Regions from separate parts of the Homo sapiens genome. Here all the other regions are linked to region 3. The links are contacts of gene promoters, found by promoter capture Hi-C in blood cells and fetal thymus (Javierre and others, 2016). All regions are on one chromosome and are shown on one strand. The core of a region is centred on a gene start or on the middle of the fragment in contact, and the rest is flanking DNA. Distances in the headings are between cores, read along the strand shown. Region 1 has its middle 300 kb from the start of LCORL. Region 2 has its middle 23 kb from the start of CLRN2. Region 3 holds the start of LCORL (ligand dependent nuclear receptor corepressor like). Region 4 overlaps FAM184B (family with sequence similarity 184 member B). Region 5 overlaps CLRN2 (clarin 2). Region 6 overlaps MED28 (mediator complex subunit 28). Region 7 has its middle 340 kb from the start of LCORL.

Region 1 (3,590 bases), core at 194-2,693, 300 kb after region 3:
ATGTCCAAAGAACCAACAAAGTCTACCATGCTTCTCACACAGAGTTACAAATTTTGGGGGGTCCAGGGTGATGTGTGATAAGAAGAACCTACATTATTAATTCACAGATTAAGCATGATGTGGCTTTCTGTGTATTGATTGTACAGGTTGAGCATCCCAAATCCAAAATGTTCCAAAACTTGAAATATTTTGAGTGCCAACATGGCGATCAAAGCAAATGCTGTTTAGGGCATTTCGGACTTGGAATATTCAGATTTGGGATGCTTAACTGGGTAAGTATAAATTGAAAATTCTGAAATCTGGGGAAAAATTGAAATCTAAAACATTTCTAGTTATAAGCATTTCGGATAAAGGATACTCAAGCTATGCTTGAAGATCTATAATAAAAATCATAATTTTTATATCTGAACAGCATGACTGGATCATAGGGTAAAAACTCAGAATGCTTAAAAATGTAGCACAGACTTCAAAGAACTTGATGTGCTTCAAAGATCATGACCATTTTGAGCTCTGCCTCAGATCCCTGGAGTGGAGAGAAGGGGGTAGGTTCAAATTCATTCTCTCCTGCAATTGGAGGTCTTCAGGTGAAATTGTTGGAAAAGGACTAAAGTACTACATTTCTGCAAGTCCTGAACATAGCACTATTACCAGTGGGGTTTTGGCAGTTAGGTCAAGCCTCTTGGTCTATGCAGGAAGCAAGAAAGTGGAAGAGAAAGATCCTTGAAAGGACAAGGCCAACTCTAGTCTATACTCACAGATGCACCATGTGCTTTGTCAGAGAGCCTCCAAGGAGTCCTTTGAGAATCTGCTAAAAGTTATAGACTCTTCAAGAAGTTGCACTGTCTACCATGGTGTAGAAGGATGCAACTTTAACTTAATGTTTGTTATAATCTTCTTTACTGCTGAGCGGGGGAACTTAATTTCAACCAGTTTTAGGTTATTCTCTGACAGTGCGACTAAAGCCTTAGTAACATGGGGAAGGGTGAAAAGTGAGTTCATGCTTAATGAGGCATATGGTCTGAGTTGTTATCTTTGTTGGCATTGTCTTCCACTCCATGTGGTTGTCAGTATTTTTTTCAGCAAGTCACTCCTAAGCAGTTCCTTACTCCTGTCTATTCTTCTCTCTTTCTGCTAATATCCTTGTTCCTTTTTAGTTGTTTTTGTTCCTCAACTCATGCACTGGGCTACTAGAATCTGGATGGAGCAAGCTATAGTTGTTCCCCACTTCTCTGTTAGTCTTGCGGCCCATTGGGGGTCATGCAACATACATCAAACTTTTGCATACTGTTCTCCTGTGCCCATGGAATTCTCAGGTTATTAACCTCTGTCCAAGTCAAAATCTAAAAAAGGGGGTCTACTATTTTCAGAGTGAGTGGAGGTGAGGAAGAAAGGATAAAATGAACCGGGAGGTTTTCTCCTGTTTGAGCTGCCAGTGAAGGGGAGGGGAGAGGAGCAAGTGGGTGCCAGGTTATAGAACATCACTAGCAGCAGGCAACAGCCATCACCCAATCACAGCCACGTGCCTACTGCACTGTGTAATTCTATAGCTCTTTTGACTGGGCTTACAGGCACGCTCTCTCTGAGTGCTATTGATTTCTTGGGGAAAGGAGATCAAAAACAAGCGTTATACTTGGTGTCGTGTGTTTTCTAGGGGAAGTAAATAGATTAGCCAAAATGGACAGACAACATCAGGGCAAAAAGAGAGGAGGCTCCCTGGAAGTGCCTGCCCTGAAATGGGATCTCTTGAAATGATCCACAGGGGAAAAAAATAATTAGGCAGGGCAAGAATTTGTCTTGTACACAGATCAAATGTCACATTTCATTCCATCTCAGCTTTGTGTCCTGGGACTCAACTCTCTCTCTATTGGGTTTCTGTTTGATAGTAGCAGCTCTGCTTTCCTGAATCTCAACCATTCTCAGCTCCCAAGCTGCTGGGACCAATCGTCACTTTGTGCTTCTGCATGTTGCTCTATGGTAGCACTGTTCAATAAAACTTTTTGTGATGATGAAAATGTGTTATGTCTCTGTTGTTGAATACAGTAGCCACTGGCCTCATGTGGCTTTTGAGCTTATGAATTGGAGCTGGTATAACTGAGGAACTGGATTTTTCATTTTATTCAATTTTAGTGAATTTAAATTTAAACAGCCACATGTGGCTGTTTGCTATCATTCTAGACAGTGCAGTTTTAGACTCTTGCAATACAAAAGTGTGAATCAGTAGCATCTGTACCACCTGGGTTTGGGAAGTTGTTAAAAATATAGTGTCTTGTGTCTCACCCCATACCTTCTTAACTAGAGTCTACATTTTAACAAGAATTCTAAGTATAAGGGTGTGCATTAAAGTTTGAGCAACAGTGCTTGAAATGACGAGGTCTCAGGAGAACACATGACATCTGTTGGGGTTACCTAGGTTATACCATGGTAACAGACAAGTCCAAAATCCTGGTGACTTAAAATAAACAAGTTTTATTTTTCACAAATGCTTCTTGTCTATCATGGCTCAGAAGGAGATCTATTCTACATCATTCTCACTCTGGGTCCCAGACTAATGGACCAATACTCTGTAGATCATTTTTTGTTGCCATGGGAGAAGGGAAAACAGGCAGTGTGGTGAAACCTGTCATTCCTACTGACATTTCATTAGCCAAATGAAGTAACATGACCACACCTAAATCTAAGGAGGCAAGGAGGTGCAATCCTACCCTATGCCCAAGAGAGGAAGAAACAGAATATTTGGAGAATTTATTTGGTGAAGAGCACTAATGACTGCCACACACAGCAAGCCTAATTAGAACTTTTTTAAAAAAAATAGCTAATTCTCAGAGCATCATCACCTCAAGTTTTAACGTACAATAGTCTTCTGATTGGTGCCTCTGCCATCCTTTATTCCTTCACATTGCTACCATATTAATCCTCCTAAGGCATAGCTCAGAGGATGCCATTTTTCTGCTCAAACCCTCCCATGATACCTCACTGCCCACCAAGTTAAGTAACCTCCTTTTAGCATGATGTAGTAGAAAGAATGCTACTAATTTATCTGTGCAACCTAGGACTATGTTGCTTAAATTATCTGAATCTCAATTTTCTCATTATTTAAGTTGGAGATAAAAATATCTTCCTTCAAGGGCTGGTCTGAGTCTTAAATGAAATAATGTCCATTAGAGTCCCTAGGGTAGCAGACATTTAGTAACTGAGAGCAGTACCATTCTCTTGAGCTCCTAGAGCATACTGTGCATATCAATACCATAATATTTACCAAAGTCATATTGAAATGACATATCACATGTCTGTTTGTCCTAGTAGACTTGAATTCCTTAAGGGTAGAGTTTATGCCTTTGACTTTGTCACTACTGTATTTAGCACAAGGCCCTGCAACATTTAGCTTATTAAATGTTTTAAACTTTACATCATTAGTCAAGCATGTAGAGCTCTCCCTAGCAAGATGGCCTTAAGTGTGTATACTGCGTGATAACCAAGCTGGACCATTTGCTGCCCATTGAATGAACAACACATTTCTCACATCTCTGCCTTTGCTCATGGTGTGTCTTTTACACTTTTTTCCTTCCTCTACCTAAGACTTTCAAATGGTT
Region 2 (3,663 bases), core at 446-2,945, 480 kb before region 3:
AGGTGAGACCTGAAAGTCTCCAAGTTAAAAGGGTGTGGGTTTGCGGGGAACTCAGAGTGTATGTTTGACCTCTAATAAGCAAATGGCTCCTTGGCTGTATTCAAAACTTAGGCCCAGTTAGCCACTCAGGATCCATGTTGAAGGATTGACTCTTTCAGATTCACATTTATTCATTACATTTATTCACAAGTTAAAGAATTAGAAACACAGCTTTCTCATTTATAATATAACCAAGTCGCGTAAGATAATCTCTAATTTTCTTTCCCTCTCTAAAATGTTATGACTTTTAATGCTATATAATATATCCAGATTTATAGTGAATAAAGCACCTAACTATATGCCGGGCACTAAGCTAGGCATTTTCATGAATGCTATTTGGTAATAGTTGACTACCAGTGTGATTGGAGATGCTGTTACATGCACTGACAATTTAATATTGTGAGGATTTCAACCACCAATTCAACTATATTCTGAATATATTGTATATGCATTTCTCTGATGTTCGCGGCTGAGTTCTTGGTTAAATAAAACAAATGTAAAAACATGGCATGTAATTGTTTGCTTTATTGCTTTCTGTTTTGGAAAAAATAATAAGCAACACTAACAAATGACTTTGGAACCACAGTGATTTTTCTTTTGTCATTGACCTCTTGCGGAACAATAAATTGTATATAATACATTTTTTTCTTCTAACATAACAATTCTCTCAACCTTACAGATTTCAAGGGAGTAGGAGGAAGGAGGGAGTGAAGAGGACAAAAAGAATTCTTTCTATTGAAAAGGGGATGTGGCCAGGCGCACACACTTGTAATCCTAGTACTTTGGGAGGCTGAGGCTCAGGAGTTCGAGACCAGCCTGGCTAACATGGTGAAAGCCCGTCTCTACTAAAAATACAAAAATTAGCCAGGCGTGGTAGTTCGTGCCTGTAATCCCAGCTACCCGGGAGGCTGAGGCAGGAGAATCACTGGAACCTGGGAGACAGAGGTTTCAGTGAGTCGAGATCACACCACTGTACTCCAGCTTGGGCAACAGAGTGAGACTCTATCAAAAAAAAAAAAAAAAAGAGAGAGAGAGAGATGTTTGTAAGAGGCCCACAGAAGTTCTCAGCACCAGACCAGGTGTGGTGGCTTATGCCACCGTGCGGTAGGAGGCAGGAGGGAGTGAATAGGACAAAAGGATTCTTTCTATTGAAAAGGAGATGTTTGTCTATTAATATAATCCCAGCACTTTGGGAGGCCGAGGCAAGAGGATCAGTTGAGCCCAGGAGTTTGAGACCAGCCTGGGCAACATAGGGAGACCCCATCTCTATAAAAATATATTTAAAAAAAAAAAGAAAGGAAAAAAGTTCTCAGCACTGTTGAAGAGAGAAATGAGCCATCCTCGAGTCATTCTGTCTACTCTTGTTGAAGCTTCCCTGGGTACCACAGCTTAAGTGGCCCACCTGAGAGGTGGCTCCTGATATACCAGCTGTTTATTAACTATGTCAGTAATGGTGATTTCTGACTCCAAAACAAACTACTCAAAATTTTACTTTAGTTTTGAAAAGTAGTGTTCCTATGGTGAGTAGTCAGCTGAACCATTTTAAAGGCCCACCCTTCAGGGTTTTGCTGTAGTAGGTTATTCCTTGTAATGAAAACAATTTTCTTGAAAATTAATTAATCGTGATGTTTTAAATCTTGTTTTGTAAGTATGCCTTTGTTTCTTTAAAGCCCTCATCATGAAGGCCTCGTCTCTTTTCTCAGTCATCACTATGGCAAACTTTAACAAGTTAGTTAGAATTTACAAAACTGTGGCAAAAACACTGTTAGTTACTTCAGAAAGTAAAGAATGGGAATGCATGACTTTTTCAAGTTCCCTTTACATAGCACGTTGTATGCCTTTCAGCAAAAATGAAAATAATAATAATAATACATTGAAATAGGTAATATTCCATTTATTAAAGTTATACATTCACAAAATTTGTTTCTCCTTAAATTGAAGTTAAGCTTATAAATATTATTGTTCTGTTTTTTAGGTTAGCAAATTTTAGTGATCTCTTTTTAAAAGCTTTGGTTTACCATTTGGTCCCCTTTATGAATGTACTAAATAAACATCTTGAAACAGCCTATGTAACTTAATTTATTTTCCATGCACTTCAATTAACTGACAAAATTTAATAATTCTTCTAAGTCTAATGAATTAAAGTTAAAATGCTGTGAACCTTAAGTTATCTTAAAAATTCTGGCTGGGTGCAGTGGCTCAAGCGTGTAATCCCAGCACTTCGGGAGGCCAAGGAGGGCGGATCACGAGGTCAGGAGTTTGAGACCAGCCTAGCCAACATGGTGAAACCATGTCTCTACTAAAAATACAAAAAAAAAAAAAAAAAAAAAAAAGGCTGAGTGTGGTGGCAGGCGCCTGTAATCCCGGCTACTCGGGAGGCTGAGGCAGGAGAATTGTTTGAACCTGGGAGGCGGAGGTTGCAGTCAGCCGAGATCACACCACTGCACTCTAGCCTGGGCGACAGGGCGAGACTCTGTCTCAAAAAAAAAAAAAAAAAAATTCCAGCCCTGTATATAAATAAGCAAAACATGATTCCAAATCATTAGAAATATACGGCTGTCCTGTTTCACCAGCAGACCAGCTTCTCTTTCATCACCAATACATAAAATAATAAGGAAGTACAAATTTTAAAATCAAAAATATCAATACCTTGATTTTGCTTCTTTTAAGTATTTTTGTACTTAATTCTAAGCTTTGTCAGGGCAAAAAGACACTTACTCACAAAGTAAATGATTACATCATCTCTCACAACTTTAGGAATTGCCTTCCCATCTATTTTGGGAATTGACTTCTCAGGAGGTTTGAGGTTGCGTTGTGAACTTGAGTCTCGCCTCAAATTAAACCCAGTTTAATAGTGAAGCCTGCCTTATACCTTACCACTATTGTTCATCTTTACTACCCTGCTCGACGTTTTCTTTTTGCTTATCTTTAACATGCTAGATAATTGATATTTGTGTTATACTTACTGTATACTGCCTGTCTTTCTCCATGAGAATGTCATCTCTATGAGGACAGGATTTTTTTTTTTTTTTTTTACAGAGTTTCGCTCTTGTTGCCCAGGCTGGAGTGCAATGGCACGATCTCGGCTCACTGCAACCTCCACCCCCTGGGTTCAAGTGATTCTTCTGCCTCAGCCTCCTGAGTAGCTGGGATTACAGGCATGAGCCACCACGCCTGGCTAATTTTGTATTTTTAGTAGAGATGGGGTTTCTCTATTTTGGTCAGGCTGGTCTCAAACTCCAAACCTCAGGTGATCCGCCCACCTCAACCTCCCAAAGTGCTGGGATTACAGGCATGAGCCACTGCGCCCAGCCAGGACAGGAATCTTTCTAGGGCTTTTGCTCTTTGACAGATGTTAAGCACCCAGAAACTGTTCCTAAATTATTTAGAAAATAGGCCAGGTGTGGTGGCTAATGCCTGTAATGTGCCAGTTGGAATTTTGCAATATCTATACATATGTAGGTACAGTATGTGTGTATGTACCTATATATGTATCTATACAGTGTGTAGCCTTTTCAGACTGGCTTCCTTCATTTAGTAAAATGTATTTATGTTTCTTCCATGTCTTAGTACCTTGATAGCTCATTTCTTTTTAGCACTGAATAATATTCCATTGTCTGTGTG
Region 3 (3,295 bases), core at 299-2,798:
CTTCTCTACTAGTCAAAAAAAGATCTTAAGACGTTAACCAAATACATGGGAGGCGGGGTCGGGGGTGCGAGGTGGTGCCAGAGCAGATGGAAACAAGGTAAGAGAGTTGTTTTCTTAAGACACTAGGGTTACTCCCCAACTCCAAATGCCAAGATTCACTCGCCAGTAGAGCAAGCTGCTGCCACTATCCACTGCTTACACAATACAACCTTCCTTTCTACCTCTTCCCCTACACTCCCACCCATAACCCCCTTCCAAAACAAACACCCACAACGCGCCCCATTCCATAATCCGTGTTCGCCCCTCTAAGCCCACTAAACCAACCTGCTGGATAACAGCTCTATGCATTCGTCTTAGGCAAAAAAAGAAAAAAAAAAAAGCGACTGCAGCAAGGTCGGGAGTCCCACCATTCCTGTCACCCTAAACAATCCACAGGGTGAGAGCCCCAAGCCCAGAAGTTTGAGGCAAAACGATTCAGATCCAACCAAAAAGAGGGAATTGCAGTTGAATGGGGATGGGAGGTGGGGAGGGCGATGCGTATGCGTGTATATGTGTGTGTGTGTGTAAGGAAGAGTCCATCACATGACAGTGAAAGAGGACCAGAGTCGTCGGGGCGTCCGCAAGCAGACGGGGGGGAGGGTGTCGTTGCCGTGGCAACACCCCCCATCCGTCCAGACTTCCAAAGAGGGAGGAAGAACTTCAAATCCCAACCGTCAGCGCTCAAGCGGCTCCTTCTTAAAGGGGTACACACAGCGCCGCCGCCGAGCGCGAGAGGGCAGAGTTGGGCGCCCCCCGCCCCTCGGACGACGCCCCCGCCGCCCCTCGCCCCCAGCCGGCCCATCAGCGGCCCCCGCCCTGCGAGTGCCCGTGGGTCTCCAGGTCCAGGTCCCCGGGAACTGGCCGCGTCTGCTCACCCGGCCCCCGGCGGCGACAAGGGGGTGTGTGTGCGCTCGGCGGGGGCGCGGACCAGCCCGCCTTCCTCCGGCCGCCCTGCCCGCCGGCTCTCCTCCGCCAGGGCGCCGACCCACCGGGCCGCTTCCTCCGTCCTGTCAGGGTGGACGGCGGGCGACGGCGGGCAGCGACGGGCGCCGAGGAGTTTCGGGGAGAGAGCGAGCGGGCGGCTTCCGCGGGGGCTCAGCAAGCGGGTCCAAACTAACAGTTCCCGGGGAGCCCAAGAGCTGGGAAGGCGAAGGAGCGCGGACCGCGCCGGGCCAGCAGCCCGCAAGACAAAAGGCGAGCGCCGGGGCCGCCGCGCCGCGCCGCTCCCATCTCGCTCCCCCACCGAACTAACCCGAACGGGAGATTCAACTAAACCCCTCAGCCACAAACTCCTCGGGCTGCGACAGCGGTCGCCGCGCGGAGCCCGGGGCCCCGGCCCGCGTCTCTCTTACCTACACAGTGCATGAGGCGGTGGCGCCAAGAGTCGAGTTCCCGCCGGAATCCTCTTCTCTCCGCCGCGCACCGAGGGCTCCGGCACTGAGCGGCGGCGGCGGCGGCGGCAGCAGCGGCGGCGGCAGCGGCCATTCTCTCTCTTCCCTTGTCCATCTGCGTCCCGCGTCACGCGCCCTCATTTACATACGAGCAGCGCAGGCACGAGGCAGGGGCGCGAGCCCTCGGCGCGAGCCCCGGAGCGCGCGCCCCCCGGAGGGGGGTTGATTGACACGTGTCACTACCTTCCCTCTGCCCTGCCCTCCCCCTCCCACCGCTCCCTCAGGGAGAGGCGGGGAGGGAGCCAGAGGAGAAGGAAGCAACCTGCCGCTTCCGCTGACCCCGCCTCCCCACCCACTACCCTCCTCCCCCTCCCGCTGGAGTTTACTCAGGCGAGCCATACCGCTCCCGCCGCCCGCGAAAACCCTGAGCGGGAGCGAGAGACCCGGAGCCCAGCCAGGAACCGGCGTGCTAGTGGAGCGGACTAGCAACGCCTACTTTCTGCCTTCACTACGGGACTCCGACAGTCCGGAGACTTCACTTCCCAGGCTCCATTTCGCCAGGATCCCGAAGCTGAACTTGGCGCCGTGGCGCGTTGCTTGCCGGTCATTGTAGTCCAGAAGAAAGGATTTTTTTTGTTTGTTTGTTTTTCTTCCCCCCCGCACTTGGGTATGCAGGCTGGCCTGCAACTTCTCTGCGCCGCGCCGCTGGGGGGCTGAGTCTGTCGCTCCCTGCGCCCGGAACCATGCGCTGCCCGGTGGCCGGGTCTGACCCGACTGCTTTAGCTTCCTTAGGCTCCGCGATAGAAGGGTGGTGGAAGCCGCAAGAGTTGTCGGCTCCTTGTGGGTTCAGGCTGCGCTTTGCGTTTTAAGTGCTGGAAACTTTCCGGGGTCGCTGTCTTCCTGTCACTCCGCAGGGAAAGGGCAAGCCGGTCATTCGGCTACATCTGGAATAACTGCCAAACGTCCAGAGAGAGATCCCGGAGTGACTTCGGTATTCAAGGCGAAGAGATCTCGGAAAGCCAGAATATTTGCAAGGACTAGGAAAAAGATGCGGGTTTTTTTCACTGAAAATTACTTGCAGGGGACTGGGTGTAGCCGGCTGAAAACTGCAGAAGGAAAATTTTCTTTATAAGCTCCTGGAGGGCAGCGACCCACTGAGATCTCTGTACCGTGACATCTGTCACTCGCTAGACCCTAGTACAGTGCGTGACACGGGATTAAGCACTTTACAAAGGTTAATGGAATGAATTCTACCACGTGCTAGAGAAAATAACTTCTTCAGAGAGAGCTAGAGAGGAATCTTACGTTTAAATACAGACTCCAATCACAGTTTTTACTTTTGCACCAGAGCGATTGTGCGTTTGTTTCCGTATAAGTGCAGTTTATCAAGCCGAAGCTAAGCTACCCAACGTTTGCTAAGAAGTACTGTGTATTTCTGGAAATTTATTCACAAGTCTGTGGGAAATATGTTTAATTCTTCTTGGAAATCTCATAAACTCTGAATTCAGTACCACCTTCCCTGTTTTGTGGCTTATCCTTATCCACCTTCTTTTTCTTCCTATGAGAAAGTATTTCTTTGCTCATTATGACTTCAGTAGTGAAGATGTAATTTTGCATCTTCATAAGTTAAAAATAATAAAGTTTGAACGCATAATCACCTTTTCTAGAACGGTCACAATTGGAGTGCAGGTGAAATCACTAGTGAAGGTGATTTTGGAATTGTCAGTGGATGGTTTTAGTTAACCACTTCCACTCACAATTGCCACGATGATCAGCCTTTGCAGTTTTCCTGATCACTTTTATAGTAATCTACATTAGTTAGGATGGGAAAAATTATGGTGCAGTAATAAATGATCCAAGAATCT
Region 4 (3,708 bases), core at 462-2,961, 370 kb before region 3:
TAGTATTGCAGGTCAGTTGTGTCTCACACAGATATAAGAAGAAGAATAATCAGCATCAGGAATATCTCATATCAACCTGCCATTACTGTAGGTGCTTGCACCTTCCCTTGAAGCCTATGATTTGTTGTCATCACAGAGTCCACAAAGCCCCTTCTTCTTGGGACTGGTGCTGAGAAGCCCAGCCTTTCCCCAGGGTCTTTCCAGGGATCTCTCCTGATTCTTTTCTTTGGGGAAGAATGGGGCTGCTGTGGAGTCAGAAAAGCCAGGGAAGGGGTGGCAGGGACAGCTGCACTGGCAGCTGCTGCTGGGTGTTGGAATCACCAGGATGTCCAGCCTGACCTGTACATGGGGAGCCTTGGACCTGAGCCATGTGGCACAGCCTGGGTTCTATCTTTACATGCTGCTAACTTCAGCATTTCCCATGTAGGCACCTCCATTCCAGGGTAGCTGCTAACTGGGAAGTCTACGAAACTCTTTCCTTCCTGCTCCTCACACCACTTCCTCAGAAACATGCAGTCAGTGGGACACGCTTTCTAATGAGAACTCAACCAAGCAGCAAGGTAGAGCCTAACTCACTTATGGAGGTAAAGAAAATGCTGTCCTCCAGAATTCTCTTTTTACTTTTCCTAATTTTTTTTTTTAAAGAGATGGGGGTCTTGCTATGTTGTCCAGGCTGGTCTTGAACTACTGACCTCACGTGATCCTCTCTCACCTTGGCCTCCCAAAGTGCTGAGACTACAGGCATGAGCCACCACACTCAGCACCCAGAAATCTCTTAAGGAGAGCCCTGTCTAGGTTTGGAAGAAATACTTAATAAAGCCAACATGATCTTTAGTGCTCAGCATGAAATGGTGAGAGGTTATTTGTCTTGCTCTTAAGAGTAAGAAAGATGACAGTAAAGGAGAAAATGAGGGACAGGGATGATCTACAAAAATGAGAGAGGTCTCCAGAATCAGGCATACAACATTGAAATATTCAGTCATGGCCGGGCGCAGTGGCTCACGCCTGTAATCCCAGCACTTTAGGAGGCTGAAGTGGGTGGATCACGAGGTCAGGAGATCGAGACCATCCTGGCTAACACGGTGAAACCTCGTCTCTACTAAAAATACAGAAAAATTAGCCGGGCGTGGTGGCGGGCGCCTGTAGTCCCAGCTACTCGGGAGGCTGAGGCAGGAGAATGGTGTGAACCCAGGAGGCGGAGCTTGCAGTGAGCTGAGATCATGCCACTGCACTCCAGCCTGGGCGACAGAGCAAGACTCTGTCTCAAAAAAAAAAAAAAAAAAAAAAAAAAGAAGAAAAGAAACATTCAGTCATAATGTAACAGGGAACACTTAGATAGACTTACTGCATACCAGGCTCTATTTGAAGCACTTCTCATGCATTTACTCAAGTAATTGTCATTACAGCCCAGTGAAGTGAATGCTATTATTATCCTCATTTTAGAGATGGGAGACTGAGGTACAGAGCAGTTAAGCAAATTCCTACCCAAAGTTACACAGCTAGTGAGTGTTAGAGCTGGGCTTCACACCCAGGCAGTTTGGCTCTAGAGATCTTTACCTCTGTTAACTTCGAAGATGCTGTGTGTGAGTGGTTTTATTGATGTGGCAACTGAAAAGGGGGAGAGTTTTGTGCTGGGGATGATGTGGGGGCAGGCAGAGGAAGCAGAGCCTGGAGGCCTAAGATCCTCCAATTTGCCGAAATCTTCAGAACAGAAATGAGAGGTTGAGGCAATGCCATGAAACTCATATGAAGGCTCAGAGATCTGGGTTACATGCAATAATAATGATGATGATGATAATGATAGTATCTACATTCACTGGGCTCCTGTTATATGCTAGACACTTTATATTTAATATCTTTTTTTTTTTTTTTTTTTGAGTCTTGCACTGTCGCCCAGGCTGGAGTGCAGTGGCGCCATCTCGGCTCAGTACAAGCTCTGCCTCCCGGGTTCACGCCATTCTCCTGCCTCAGCCTCCCGAATAGCTGGGACTACAGACACCTGCCACCACGCCCGGCTAATTTTTTGTATTTTTAGTAGAGACGGGGTTTCACTGTGTTAGCCAGGATGGTCTCTATCTCCTGACCTTGTGATCCACCCGCCTCAGCCTCCCAAAGTGCTGGGATTACAGGCGTCAGCCACCACACCCGGCCTTTATGTTTAATATCTCATTTAATCCACACAGTGAGCCTATGAGGTAGGGACAACTGTAATTCAATTTTATACAAAAGGAAAATGAGACTCACAGTAAGCCATCCCAGGTTTCACAGCTAGTTGGTGGCAGAGCCAGGATTGTCCCTGACATGTGTGCCTGAGATTCCTGGAGCCCTGGCCTGTGAGCCCGAGACCCCTGGAGCCCTGGCCTGTGTGCCTGAGAGCCTGGAGCCCTGGCCTGTGAATCTGAGAGCCCTGGAGCCCTGGCCTGTGAGCCTGAGATTCCCGGAGCCGTGGCCTGTGAGCCCGAGAACCCTGGAGCCCTGGCCCTCAGCTTGTCTCTGGTTTCTACATGCAGACCCTGCAGTTGGCCAGGCCCTCCTCAGTACACTATTGGGTGTATACCTAGCAGCAGGGCCTGCTGTGCCTGCATCCTCTCACGCTCCTCCTGCAGCTCTTGCCTGGCCTTTTCCTCCAAGGCCTGGAGCTCCAGTCGGTGTGTCTGGTGTTGGATCTGGAGGCTGTGGCTGGATTCCTTCTTCAAGCGTTCCTCTGTGGCCTGTGGGAAAAAGTGGGAACAAGAAGGCATGAAAGTGGGCATGAGGGTGGGAGACCTGACTCCTTTGCCAAGCTCTTCTGAGCCAGGATGCTCTGAACACTCGCACTCTCCCATGGAGGGCTTATCAGGCTACAGAGAATGCTGTAGCAATGGCCTGGCCACAGCAGCCATTTTGCACCAGGTGAACCACCTCCTTCCACAGCTGATTGGGCCAGAGTGGACACCTGTTCTAACCTGGGCCAATCAAAGTTCCTTTAATGTAAATTTGACATGAAGAGGTGGGAGATAGAGCAAAAGAGACTGACAGACAGATACTGACTCTGTGGCTCCAAATTTACCATACTCAGGAGCACTAAGGTAACTATCTGACATCTGCCCCAGGACTAGTGTGGTGATGGCTGCTGTCTGTGGAGGAAGCCCAGGGCTGGTGTGCACAGCAGAGCAGAATGACATAGGGAAGGGTGAGGGGTCCCTACAGCTTTTCAGTCCATGCTCTTGTTTGGTCCTGAGAACTGTCTGTGTCTCTGTCCTTGGGTTCATATTCATTCATTCTTTTTTTCCCTACTTTTTATTTTTGGTTCATTCACGCTTTCACTCAACAAACATTTATTTACTGAAGTCCCACTGTGTGTCAAACACCCAAAGCAAGTTCTGTGAGCAGCTGGGTAAACTTTAATAAGTGTCTCTTCACTGCCTGCCTAACTTCACTCAAGCTGGTTTCTGTGAGAGGCACAAAAACAACCCCTAAGATGTCCATGTCTGAAAACTGAGTATGTTACCTTACATGGTCAAAGGGACTTTGCAGATGTGATTAAGGATCTTAGATGGGAGATTATCCTGAAATATCTGGGTGGGCCTCAATCACAAGGGTCCTTATAAGAGGGCCGTAGGAGGCTCAGTGAGAAAAGAGTTGATGGTGGAAGCAGAGGTCAGAGAGGGAGGGGGAGGGGGATTTGAAGCTGCTACACTTTTGGCTTTGATAATGCAGGAAGGGACC
Region 5 (3,658 bases), core at 805-3,304, 500 kb before region 3:
TGGTGAAACCACGTCTCTACTAAAAATACAAAAATTAGCCGGGCGTGGTGGCAGGTGCCTGTAATCCCAGCTACTCAGGAGGCTGAGGCAGGAGAATCACTTGAACTTGGGAGGTGGAGGTTGCAGTGAGCCAAGATTGTGCCATTGCACTCCAGCCTGGGTGAAAAGAGTGAAAATCCATCTAAAAAAAAAAAAGAGAAAGGAAAAAGAAAGAAAAATTTACCATCTGATAAAGGAGAGGCAGATAAATATATACTAGGCACAGAACACAGTATCTGAAGCCATTGCCTTGTAGTTCATTTCCTTCCATTTTTACTATGCTAGAGAAGAGATTTTATTACGCCCATTTTACTGATGAGGAAATTAGAGACCAGAGAAATCGATACATAAAATAATTTCTTTAAAAGCACCTAATGTAATAGATTGCTTTGCAGCTTTTAGTTCTCTGGTTCCTCTCTACTTCCTGCCTCACAGGTATTCCACTAGTGGCCAGGACCTGGGTTTGACTTCAGATGTCCTGCTTTTCTTATTTGCCCTGCTGGGGCGAAAAGGACTGCCAGACCTCTCTGGGATTCGGAGCAAACAAATTATCTTAGATGCTGATAGATGCTGATAGATGCATCATATGCTGATAGATGCTGATAGATGCATCATATGCTGATAGAATGATGCTGATAGAATGATTAATCAATTCTGCTTTCAAGTGAGTTGCCTCTAATGTGTAGGAAACAACTATATCTATTCAAATTCAAAATGAGACCTCCAGGATTCAAAAGACTCTATGTTTAGAATTTTAAACCTCTACTTATCTGTGCTTTCTGATTTTTCTGCTCTAGCCCTGTAATAGAGTAGTTAAGCTGACACTTTTCTTGCTGTGGGAGCGTAGCTAAGCTATTTCACTTCTCCGAGCCTCAGTTTCCTCATTTGTAAGCATGAGAGAGGGTGTCCATGAGCAACAGAACAAAGAATATGTATAAAGCCACCGGCACATAGTCTGCACCCCATATAGGTGGCTGTTGTCATTTATCACCATGAATCGTGTTGTCATTTATCACCATGAGTCGTGTGTAGGGTCATGGATTTCAAGCTAGAAACTTAAATTTAATTCCTAGTGGGAGACATCTAAAACTCTTGGAACCTGGATTTCAAATGTGAAAGGCAAGTGAGCAACAGCTTTCCTAGGGCAGCACTGGGTGTCAGGCTAAGGCAGAGTCACCTCTCAGTGAGAAAGTAGAAAGAACTGGTGCATTAACACTCCTGAGAAATGATTTGAATTTCTACTTTTTTCTTCTTTTTTAAAAAATAATTTAATTTAGAGACAGAGCCTTGCTATGTTGCCCAGACTTATCTCCAACTCCTAGCCTCAAGCAATCCCCCCATAATGGCTCCCAGAAGTGCTGGGATTACAGGCATGAGCCACTGCCCCAGCCTCGAATTTCTAAATAATGACATATATTAAAAAATAATAAAATCTCTATTAAACATGAGGTCCTGAGCCCTGTGTTATGGCCCAAGAATGTGGGGGTTGAGTGAGATTTGCCCTTTGCCAATAAGTATTTTTTAATTATAGTTAATGCACTTCCTACTATGAAGGCCGAGGACTGGGCACTCTTTACCACCCTCTCCACATCACTCCACATTCCCCAAATTCCCTCTCCCCCGTCATCCTAATATGATTATTTCTCAATTTTTAAAAATCAAATCTGGATATGGTTTCAATCATTATGTGGATATAATTCTTTCTTTTTAAAAGATGAATTATATACATTATGGACATTATGGATACTTTATTAAATCAGTCTATTCACATACTGTTTTTTCTCCAATCTTTTGCTATTGTAATGAATATCCAATATTTGATCCACGCTTTGAGCACATGTGGGAGTGCTTCTGGAAAATAAATTCCTAGAAGTGAATTTGCTTTAGTAGATGTTGCCAAATTGCCCTCTAACAAGGTTACATGAATTAATATTTCTATGAGACTTGAGAGTGCCTCTTCCTTACACCATTGTCAACACGGTGTTTTAGCAAACATTTTGATCTTTACCATTCACATAGGTGACTGTTTTCTATTGTAAGAGTTTTGGTAAGCATTACTATGTTAGTCGTGTGTCCTAAGGATTGCCTGGTTAAGAAAGGGGATAATGAAACAATTTAAAAATCAGGCACAAGCGGCAGGGTCTGGTGGCTCATGCCTGTAATCCCAGCACGGGCAGATCACTTGAGGCCAGGAGTTTGAGACCAGCCTGGTCAACATGGTGAAACCCCCGTCCCTGCTAAAAATGCAAAAATTAGCCAGGCATGGAGGCGGGTGCCTGTAATCCCAGCTATTGGAAAGGCTGAGGCATGAGAATTGCTTGAATCAGAGAGAAGGAGGTTGCACCAAGCCGAGATGGTGCCACTGCACTCCAGCCTGGGTGACAGAACAAGATTCTGTCTTTAAAAATAAAAATAAATAAATATCAGCACAAGCTACTGTGTCTGAAACAAAAAGGGGCTGAGAGTTTGAAAAGAGAAAAAAAAAATCTAAGGGACATTAAGATGGGATAGAAGCACAGGGAAGAAAGACGCTTTACAAAGACAAACTCACTGGAAAGGAGCTCATCTTCCAGGGTAAAGTTTCCAATGCTGATTAGATAACCATAGGGAGATAAAAATAAATGGAAATTCAGAACTGGAAAGAAACATCAGAACGCACAATGTAAACGTGGAGTGCCTGAAAATGTGTCACCTAACGGGACACCTAACGGGAAAAACAAAAACTCTAGTTCTCAGGACTGGGAGACGCCAACCTTCAGTGACTAAGAGAGGCAGGTGAACCAGCAAAGGAACTAGTTCCATCAGGGTGGGTATTCAGCAGGAACCTTGGAGCAATTGCAGAGGAATGAGTATGCTCAGAAGTTCTGTAGCTTTCATAATGTTCAATTCTTCATGTAAAACTACTAAAGATCATGACTTGACACTGTTGATACCATACAGTTGTGAACAACAGTTCTCAGAAAAGGAATTTGGAGTAAAGAATTTATTCCAGTTAACGGTTTGCAAACCAGGGAAACACAGCCTCCGGTGTAAAAGGAAGGTGTATTCCAGAGAAGAAAGGGAAGGCTCAGATTTTATAGCAAAAGTTCCCACCCAGGTTTCCAGTCAGGTCTGTTTGGGTAAATAAAGGATTCAAATTCACTTAGTTCTGATTGGTGGATACAGCTGAACCCTGATTAGCTGGTACAGCTGAGCCCCGATTGGTCATTACAGCTGAGCCCTGATTGGCTGAGGCAGATCTCAAAGATAAAAAGGTGTGGGTTTTCAAGGAACTCAGAAGATGCGTGTGACCCCCTAGTCAGTAAATGGCCACTTGGCCCTACTTTAAATTTAGAGCCAGTTAACCACTCAGGACCCATCTTGAAGGACGGGCTCTTTCAGGGTCACATTTGTTCTCATAGTATATTGAACTATAATCTTATATAGAATTAAGAGTTGCCTTCCCCAAACACAAGCAATTAATGTCTCCAAGCCTGTGGGTATAAGGAGTTTATAAAATCTACCTCATGTCTTTGTCATGCACATTGAACAAGATGACGATGTAAAATGTTTGGCCCATGACTGCACTTAGTAAATGTTGATTATCCTCAATTCATATGCAGGGATTACTATCCCCATT
Region 6 (3,709 bases), core at 350-2,849, 390 kb before region 3:
CAGCACCAAAGACTGAAAAAATATTTTGCCCCCTAAAAGTTGTTATTGAGTCTTGTCAAATCACATTGCTCTGTCAGAAGGTAAGACAAATCAGTGTGGACTGAGAGCAAGGTCAGCACCGTGAACAGCCATTGCGGTTCCTTTAACCCACTGGGAATTCATGCAGTGAAGAAGCAACACACCATGAGGCAAATGGCTCAAACCCAAAGACCAGAGGTTCAGGGGATATATATATATATTTTTTTAATCTGTAGAGATGGGATCTCACTATCTTGCCCAGGCTGGTCTCGAACTCTTGGGCTCATGCTGTCCTACCTCAGACTTCCAAGTAGCTGGGTTTTCTTTGGGCTAATTATTTTTTTGTAGAGATGGAGGTCTCGCTGTGTTGCCCAGGCTGGTCTCAAATTCCTGGCCTCAAGCTCTCCTCCCATCTCAGCCTCCCAAAGTGTTGGGATTACAGGCATGAGCCATGTGCCCAGTCTAGAAGATCTTTGACTTCAAAGAACAGATAATCTAGAGACCTTCACAAGTGATCATGTTGGCACTATGGTCATTACACTGAGACCTATAACTGGGCTAGGATTGGTTATTTACAGAAAAACCTTGTGGTACTTAATTCCAATTCATGTTAATTTATGTTATCTTGCTTAATCCTTGCAAAGCCCTTTTAGAGGTGGGTGTTATCCCATCTATAATCTGCTGCTTGTCTTAGACCAAGGAAGTGAAAGTATTCAGTCCAAGCATGCTACCATCCATTTCTGGTAGGTTTGGTTTGTTTTTAGTTGGCTTTCCTGTTTAACTGTTATTTGTCTTCCTATTGAGGTTAGATGTGCATTTTGGAATTGCATCATTTTACATAGAAACAGCTTTCCAGTGGAGTTGACTAGCATCCTAAGGACAAGTACAACCACTTTTGAAATAGATCATGGAAATCACAAAGTCTGATGTTCCACAAAATGGAGTATGATGTTATGGACACTAGAAATACAAGGTATGGGTCATTAGTAACGCTAATAACATTTTCCTATAGATGACTTTTAATAACACTGGTTTAATGTCAATTTTTTTTTTTTTTTTTTTTTTTTTTTTTTTTTTTTTTTTTTTTGGAGACAGGGTCTCCCTCTGTCACCCAGGCTGGTTGGAATGCAGGAGTTCGAACTTGGCTCACTGCAACCTCTGCCTCCTAGGTTCAAGTGATCCTCCCGCCTCAGTCCCCCAAGTACCTGGGACCACAGGCACACGCCACCATGCCTGGCTAATTTTTGTATATTTTGTAGAGATGGGGTTTCACCATATTGGCCAGGCTGGTCTCAAATTCCTGGACTCAAGCAGTCCATCTGCCTCAGCCTCCCAAAGTGATGGGATTACAGGCGTGAGCTGCTGTGCCTGGCAGAACAGTATGAAGTGTTAACGCCAAAATTTGTTTTAGCTATCATATATAAATCATAAGCATATTATTTGGTTGGTTGGTGTTAGTTCATTCCTTCAATCGGATGATTTAAAATAAATGTTTTTCAAGTATCCTCTGTGATGTATCCCAAAGGTTAGCTTAGAAAGAAAAGTACTTGGTGAACCATTCCTGGTGCGGAGAGCCCTGTTTCTGCTGGACTTCTTTGGCTTGGGCCGTTTCACCATCTGGGGTCCTAAAAGCAAAAAAAGGTTTTTTTATATGGTTTTGAAAACTATGCAAGAAGCAGCTTAATACCCACCATCTTTTCAGGGAAAGATAACTGCTTGTTTACTCTTCAAAAACACCCAAATGGGACTGGCCAACATTAGTAGTGGGAAACAAATTGTAAAGGATGGGGCTGGGGAGGGAGTACCTAATCCTCATTTGGAAAACAGAAGGTTCACCATTGTTTGGTTCTCCATTGTTCCTTTGAGACTTAGTGGTTGTAGCTCTAATAATGCAGGATTAACCAAACCTACAGATCAAGAGACTTTGTTTTTATTTTTTGTGACAGAGTCTCCCTCTGTCACCCAGGCTGGAGTGCAGTGGCATGATCTCGGCTCACTGCAACCTCCAGCCTCCTGCGTTCAAGCGATCATTGTGCCTCAGCCTCCCGGGGAGCTGGAATTACAGGCGCATACCACCACACCTGGCTAATTTTTGTATTTTTTGTAGAGATGGGTTTCACCATGTTGCCCAGGCTGGTCTCGAACTCCTGACCTTAGGTGATCCACCCACCTCCATCTCCCAAAGTGCTGGGATTACAGGCGTGAGCCACCAAGCCCGGCCCGATTAAGAGACTTTAGAATTCCAAGGTGATAGAGTAAATCTTGAGGAATAATGTTAGTAATAATACTGAAACTATATTGAAGATTTTTGTGCCAAGTCCTGTGCTAAGCACATCCTATGGATTAATTCCTTTAGTCTCACGTCAGTCTGATGAGATAGGTGCTGTATTATCTTAATTTTAAAGGCAAGGTATATGGAGACCTGGAGAGGTCAAGTGACCTGTCCAAGGCCACAGAGCTAAGAATGAGGAAGACTGTAATTTGAATTCAGACCTCCAGGCCAGATGGAGTCCACCTTTTGTATAACCCATGCTGAAGTTTTCAGGTAAGTGATTCAGTGTCCCTTGTCTAATCATCCATGAAAAAAGGCCTTCTGGAATTTGGTACCAGGTGCTAGAAAGAATCCTACTTCCCCTCTTATCTACAGGGAAATAGAATAAGGGCCCCTGTCCCCAACATCCCCCAAACCTTGTGGCAGTTTTTGCATCTGTAGACTGGTTGGGTTTGTAGGTCCGGCCACAGCTGGGGCTTGGGTCCAAGCTGGGTGATGTAGTTATTGGAGGGGCATTAATCCTGGAACTCAGATCGCCACTCAGAAAGTTCTTTGCATAGGAGGCGAGGTTCGGCACGCTGACCACGCGGCTGGGCACGTCCTCCACCTTCTTTTTCTGTTTGTATTAATGGACAGGTTAGTGCAATGCAATGCAAAAAACAAAATAAAGCATTATTGTAAAAGCAAATAATGCTCACCCAATCAAAATTGTATCGGAGAAGAAGCAACAATTTCATTTATACACTTACATGCTATTTTTTAAAGCACTTTTCCCTCCAATCTTCATTTTGTATTATAAATAAATATGTATGTTCACAACCTCTTAACCAAAACTTCTGGAGATGGATGTGTTTTGCAACTCAATTTTGTTTAAGATTTTAGAAGGTCATGTAACACCCCCAGCAGGGGATGGGCCCACCCTAGCCTCAAATGCATTTATTTAAATTTCTGGAGTGAAACTTGTATTTTGTCACAATGAGGGATACATAAAAACTACACGAGATGACATTAGTTAAGTCACAAGTGTATTGTCCTGTGAACTATTTTTAAAAATACTATTTTTGTTTTTAAGATGTAGCCTTGCTCTGTCACCCAAGCTGGAGTACGGTGGTGCGATCTCAGCTCACTGCAACCTCCGCCTCCTGGGTTCAAGTGATTCTCCTACCTCGGCCTCCTGAGTAGCTGGGATTACAGGCATCTGCCACCAAGCCCAGCTAATTTTTGTATTTTTAATAGAGTTGGAGTTTCACCACGTTGGCCAGGCTGGTCTTGAAATCCTGACCTCAAGTGATCCACCCACCTCGGCCTCCCAAAGTGCTGGGATTACAGGTGTGAGCCATTGCACCCAGCCAAAAATACTATTTTTTAAGAGCCTTTAGGATTTTGTGATAGTAGATAATTGAATGTGAATATGCTCAT
Region 7 (3,617 bases), core at 253-2,752, 340 kb after region 3:
CTTTTTCTATTTTAGGATTCCATCTAAGATGTCACATTACATTTACCTGTCATGTGTGATTAGGCTCCTCTTGGCTTTGAGAATTTCTCAGCCTTTTCTTGTTTTTGATGACTGTGATAGTTTTGAAGGGTGCTGGTTAGGTATTTTGTTGAATGTTCCTCAATTTGAACTTGCCTGATGTTTTTCTCATTGTTAGACCGGGGTTGTGTGTTTTGAGGAAGAATACCACAGTGGTAAAGGGACATTTTTATCATGTCGTATCAAGAGTACTTACTATAAATGTGACTATTTTTGATGTTAACTTTTATCACCTGGTTGAGTATTTTTTGTTAGGTTTCTTCATTGTAAAGTAACTTTTCTTCCTTCTGTTTTTCATATTGTGTTCTTTGAAAATATATCAACACATGGAGCCTACACTGAAGGAATGGGGAACTGTTTTGTTTCCTGAAGGAGAGAGTATCTACATAAATTATTCAGAATTCCACATGGGAGATTTTGTCTTCTCCAAATCTATTTAGTCATTCAAAAATTTATTTGTATTTGTATTGATTCATCAATATTTAATTAATTAATTAATTAATTTTCTTGAGATGGAGTCTCACTCTGTCACCCAGGCTGGAGTGCAATGGCGCGATCTTGGCTCACTGCAACCTCTGTCTCCTGGGTTCAAGCGATTCTTCTGCCTCCGCCTCCTGAGTAGCTGGGATTACAGGTGCGCACCACCATACCCAGCTAATTTTTTTATTTTTAGTAGAGACGGGGTTTCACGCTGTTGGTCAGTCTGGTCTCGAACTCCTGACTTCATGATCTGCCCACCTCGGCCTCCCAAAGCGGTGGGATTACAGGTATGAGCCACTGCGTCTGGCCTATCAATATTTATTTTATACTTTGAGCTATATCTTAGTTTGCTTTGTACTGCTATTATAGAATGCCCAAGACTGGGTAATTTATGATTAACAGAAATTTATTGACTCACAATTCTGGAGGCTGGGAAGTCCAATATCAAGGTGCTAGCATCTGGTGAGGGCCTTCTCACTGTGTCATCACATGGTAGAACAGCAAGAGAGGGCAAGAGAGAGGGGGAAAAAGGGATGCAAACACCCTTTCATAACAACATCAATCCTATCCACGAGGGTGGTGCCCTCATTGGTTAATCGCCTTTTAAAGATCCCATTTTTTAATACTGTTACAATGGCAACAAAATTTCATCATGACTTTTGGAAATGACAAACATTGAAGCCATAGCAGATTTCATCTATTACTTAATTTATTTTGTTATACAAACTTTTCCAGTTTTGGCCATTAGGAACTCTTTCAAGTGACTTTTGTGCCCTTTTGACATATTCTCATAATTAACTAATTAAAATTTGAGCATTTCCTTACTTTCTGGCACTACAGGATGCTCCAGTCTCATTTTCTGTATTTCCTTTCCCAGTCCTAGAATCAGGCATTTCTACAAAAAGAAGTGCTGAAGAATGATACTAACCCCAAGATCTAGGTACTAGGCTTGTTCATTGCTACTGGGGTGTTGTCACTTTAGGCCCTATCAGCTGACAGACTAAGGATATATTCATACATAAGAACCAGTCTATACTCTTATATCTATAAATATTTCTATGTGGAACTATTTGTGTTAAGCTAAACAGAGTTGTTACCGATGTCTCCAGCCCTAAAATGTAAGCACACAGATTACTCTAGACTGTCTCTTGCTAATTTGTAACCTCTAACTCCAACAGTATGAAGTGGCTCCCACTATCTTCCATCCATCTACCTAATTGTTTAATTTCTGTTTACATTTATAATTGTATAAGAATTGTAAGTCAATACCTCTGTGGTAAACAACTTTATTCATTAGACTACAATACCTAGATATAATTTCTTTTGCCTTTGCTCTTACAGACTTCACACATTTCTAAAGTTGTTTAGATTACCACCTTTATTCTTTCATGTCCTTCAGCGAAGTTGTTTTGTACACTTGTAGTACTGTCATAATGTTTTCCTAAATTCCAGATTCCATTCTTGGATTCCAAAATATTTAGTTAAAAATTACAATTATTGATGTTCACTGTGTTTTGAAATTCAATGGATTTTTGACACAAGAGTATAATGTATCCGTCATCACAGTGTCATTCAGAATAGTTCCACTGCCCTAAAAAAGATCCCATCTTTCATGCTTCACCTACACAACCCTTACCTTTCCCATCTTCTCTCTGAAATCTGACCTTTTTACCACCTCTATAGCTTTGCTTTTTCCAGCATGTCATAGAATTGGAATCATACAGTATGTAGTCTTTCCCCATTGGCTTTTTTTTTTACTTAGCATTATACATATAAGGTTCATCCTTGTCTTCTTGTGACTTGAAAGCTCATTTCTTTCTATCACTGAATAATATTCCATTGTATGGGTCTACCATAGTTTGTTTATTTATTCACCTTTAAAAGACATCTTGTGCAAATTTTTGTGCAGACATAGTCTTTCAACTTATTTGGGTAAATATTTAGAAGCATGATTGCTGGATGGATGGTGATATGGTTTGGCTGTGTCCCTACCCAAATCTCATCTTGAACTGTGGCTCCTACGATTCCCACGTGTCATGGGAGGGACCCAGTGGGAGGTAATTGAATCATGGTGGCAGGTCTTTCCTGTGCTGTTCTCATGATAGCGAATAAGTCTCATGAAATCTGATGGTTTTATAAAGGGGAGCTTCCCGGCACAAGTTCTCTTCTCTTGTCTGCCACCATATGAGATTTGCCCTTCACATGATTGTGAGGTCTCCCCAGCCATGTGGAACTGTGAGTCCATTAAACCTCTTTTGTAAATGGCCCGGTCTCCAGTATATCTTTACCAGCAGTGTGAAACGGTCTAATACAGATGATAAGACTTTGTAGAAAACTCAGTTTTGCAAGAAACTGCTAAACTGTCTTCCAAAGTGGCTGCACTATTTTTCATTCCCATCAACAATGAATGAAAGTTCCTGTTGTTCTACATCCTAATCAGTAATTAGCATTGTCAGTTCTATGAACTTTTGCCATTCTAATATGCATATAATAGTATCTCATTATTGTTTAATTAACAATTCTTGATGACATATAATTTGGAGCATCTTTTCATAAGCTTACTTGCCATTTGTTTATCTTTCATGAGATGTTTGTTAAGGTCTGTGACCCATTATTTAATCAGGTTGTTTACTTAATGTTGAGTTTTAAGTGTGCTTTGTATATTTTGGATAGATGTCCTTTATCAGATATGAGTTTTCCAATTTTTTCCCCAATCTGTTGCTTATCTTTTTATTCTCTTACAGTATATTTTGCATATCAGAAATGTTAAATTTTAATTAAGTCCAATTTCTTTTTCTTTCATGAATTGTGATTTTGATGTTGTGTCTATAACATAATCACTAAACCTAAGTTCACCTAGATTTTCCTCTGGAAATTTTATAATTCTAATTTTACATTTAGGTTTATAATCTATTTTGAGTTAAATTTTCTGAAACATGTAAGGTCTGTGTCTAGTACTTTCTTTTTGCATATGAATGTCCAACTTTTCAAGCACCGTTTGTTGAAAAGACTATCCTATACTTTTTTATTTTTTTGTTTTTATTTTTTTACCAAATTGC

What was found. Contacts are between HindIII fragments. The CHiCAGO score rates a contact against its expected background, and 5 or more counts as called.
Region 1: a fragment that was not itself captured here is called in contact with the fragment with the promoter of LCORL in region 3 in 1 of 17 cell types (endothelial precursors); the score reaches 5.7 in endothelial precursors.
Region 2: a fragment that was not itself captured here is called in contact with the fragment with the promoter of LCORL in region 3 in 5 of 17 cell types (erythroblasts, total CD4 T cells, activated CD4 T cells and 2 more); the score reaches 7.6 in erythroblasts.
Region 4: a fragment that was not itself captured here is called in contact with the fragment with the promoter of LCORL in region 3 in 1 of 17 cell types (naive CD8 T cells); the score reaches 5.6 in naive CD8 T cells.
Region 5: a contact is called between a fragment that was not itself captured here and the fragment with the promoter of LCORL in region 3, in 2 of 17 cell types (monocytes and total CD4 T cells). The highest score is 7.0, in monocytes.
Region 6: a fragment that was not itself captured here is called in contact with the fragment with the promoter of LCORL in region 3 in 9 of 17 cell types (monocytes, total CD8 T cells, naive CD4 T cells and 6 more); the score reaches 10.9 in monocytes.
Region 7: a contact is called between a fragment that was not itself captured here and the fragment with the promoter of LCORL in region 3, in 2 of 17 cell types (endothelial precursors and M2 macrophages). The highest score is 8.8, in endothelial precursors.

The regions. Positions count from the first base shown.
Region 1 is chr4:18,320,648-18,324,237 of GRCh38, forward strand. No RefSeq gene overlaps it. Among named protein-coding and RNA genes, the nearest start is that of LCORL, 300 kb to the left of the region's middle. The HindIII fragment of the contact is 5,768 bases long and covers 1-3,590 here.
Region 2 is chr4:17,536,149-17,539,811 of GRCh38, forward strand. No RefSeq gene overlaps it. Among named protein-coding and RNA genes, the nearest start is that of CLRN2, 23 kb to the left of the region's middle. The HindIII fragment of the contact is 576 bases long and covers 1,408-1,983 here.
Region 3 is chr4:18,020,207-18,023,501 of GRCh38, forward strand. It overlaps LCORL (ligand dependent nuclear receptor corepressor like), which reads right to left and starts at 1,549. Exons shown (of 8, transcript NM_001394446.1): 1 at 1,392-1,549. The coding sequence starts at 1,545. RefSeq lists silencers at 761-1,090, 1,411-1,870 and an enhancer at 1,921-2,180. The HindIII fragment of the contact is 12,000 bases long and covers 1-3,295 here.
Region 4 is chr4:17,650,273-17,653,980 of GRCh38, forward strand. FAM184B (family with sequence similarity 184 member B) reads right to left here. Exons shown (of 18, transcript NM_015688.2): 11 at 2,558-2,711. Among named protein-coding and RNA genes, the nearest start is that of MED28, 37 kb to the left of the region's middle. The HindIII fragment of the contact is 5,533 bases long and covers 1-3,708 here.
Region 5 is chr4:17,518,578-17,522,235 of GRCh38, forward strand. All of the region lies in intron 1 of CLRN2 (clarin 2), which reads left to right. Among named protein-coding and RNA genes, the nearest start is that of CLRN2, 5.2 kb to the left of the region's middle. The HindIII fragment of the contact is 4,330 bases long and covers 1-3,658 here.
Region 6 is chr4:17,630,983-17,634,691 of GRCh38, forward strand. MED28 (mediator complex subunit 28) reads left to right here. Exons shown (of 4, transcript NM_025205.5): 4 at 1-3,123. It overlaps FAM184B (family with sequence similarity 184 member B), which reads right to left. Exons shown (of 18, transcript NM_015688.2): 17 at 2,707-2,906; 18 at 1-1,643. The coding sequence ends at 1,550. Among named protein-coding and RNA genes, the nearest start is that of MED28, 18 kb to the left of the region's middle. The HindIII fragment of the contact is 5,359 bases long and covers 1-3,709 here.
Region 7 is chr4:18,360,831-18,364,447 of GRCh38, forward strand. No RefSeq gene overlaps it. Among named protein-coding and RNA genes, the nearest start is that of LCORL, 340 kb to the left of the region's middle. The HindIII fragment of the contact is 3,222 bases long and covers 1-3,113 here.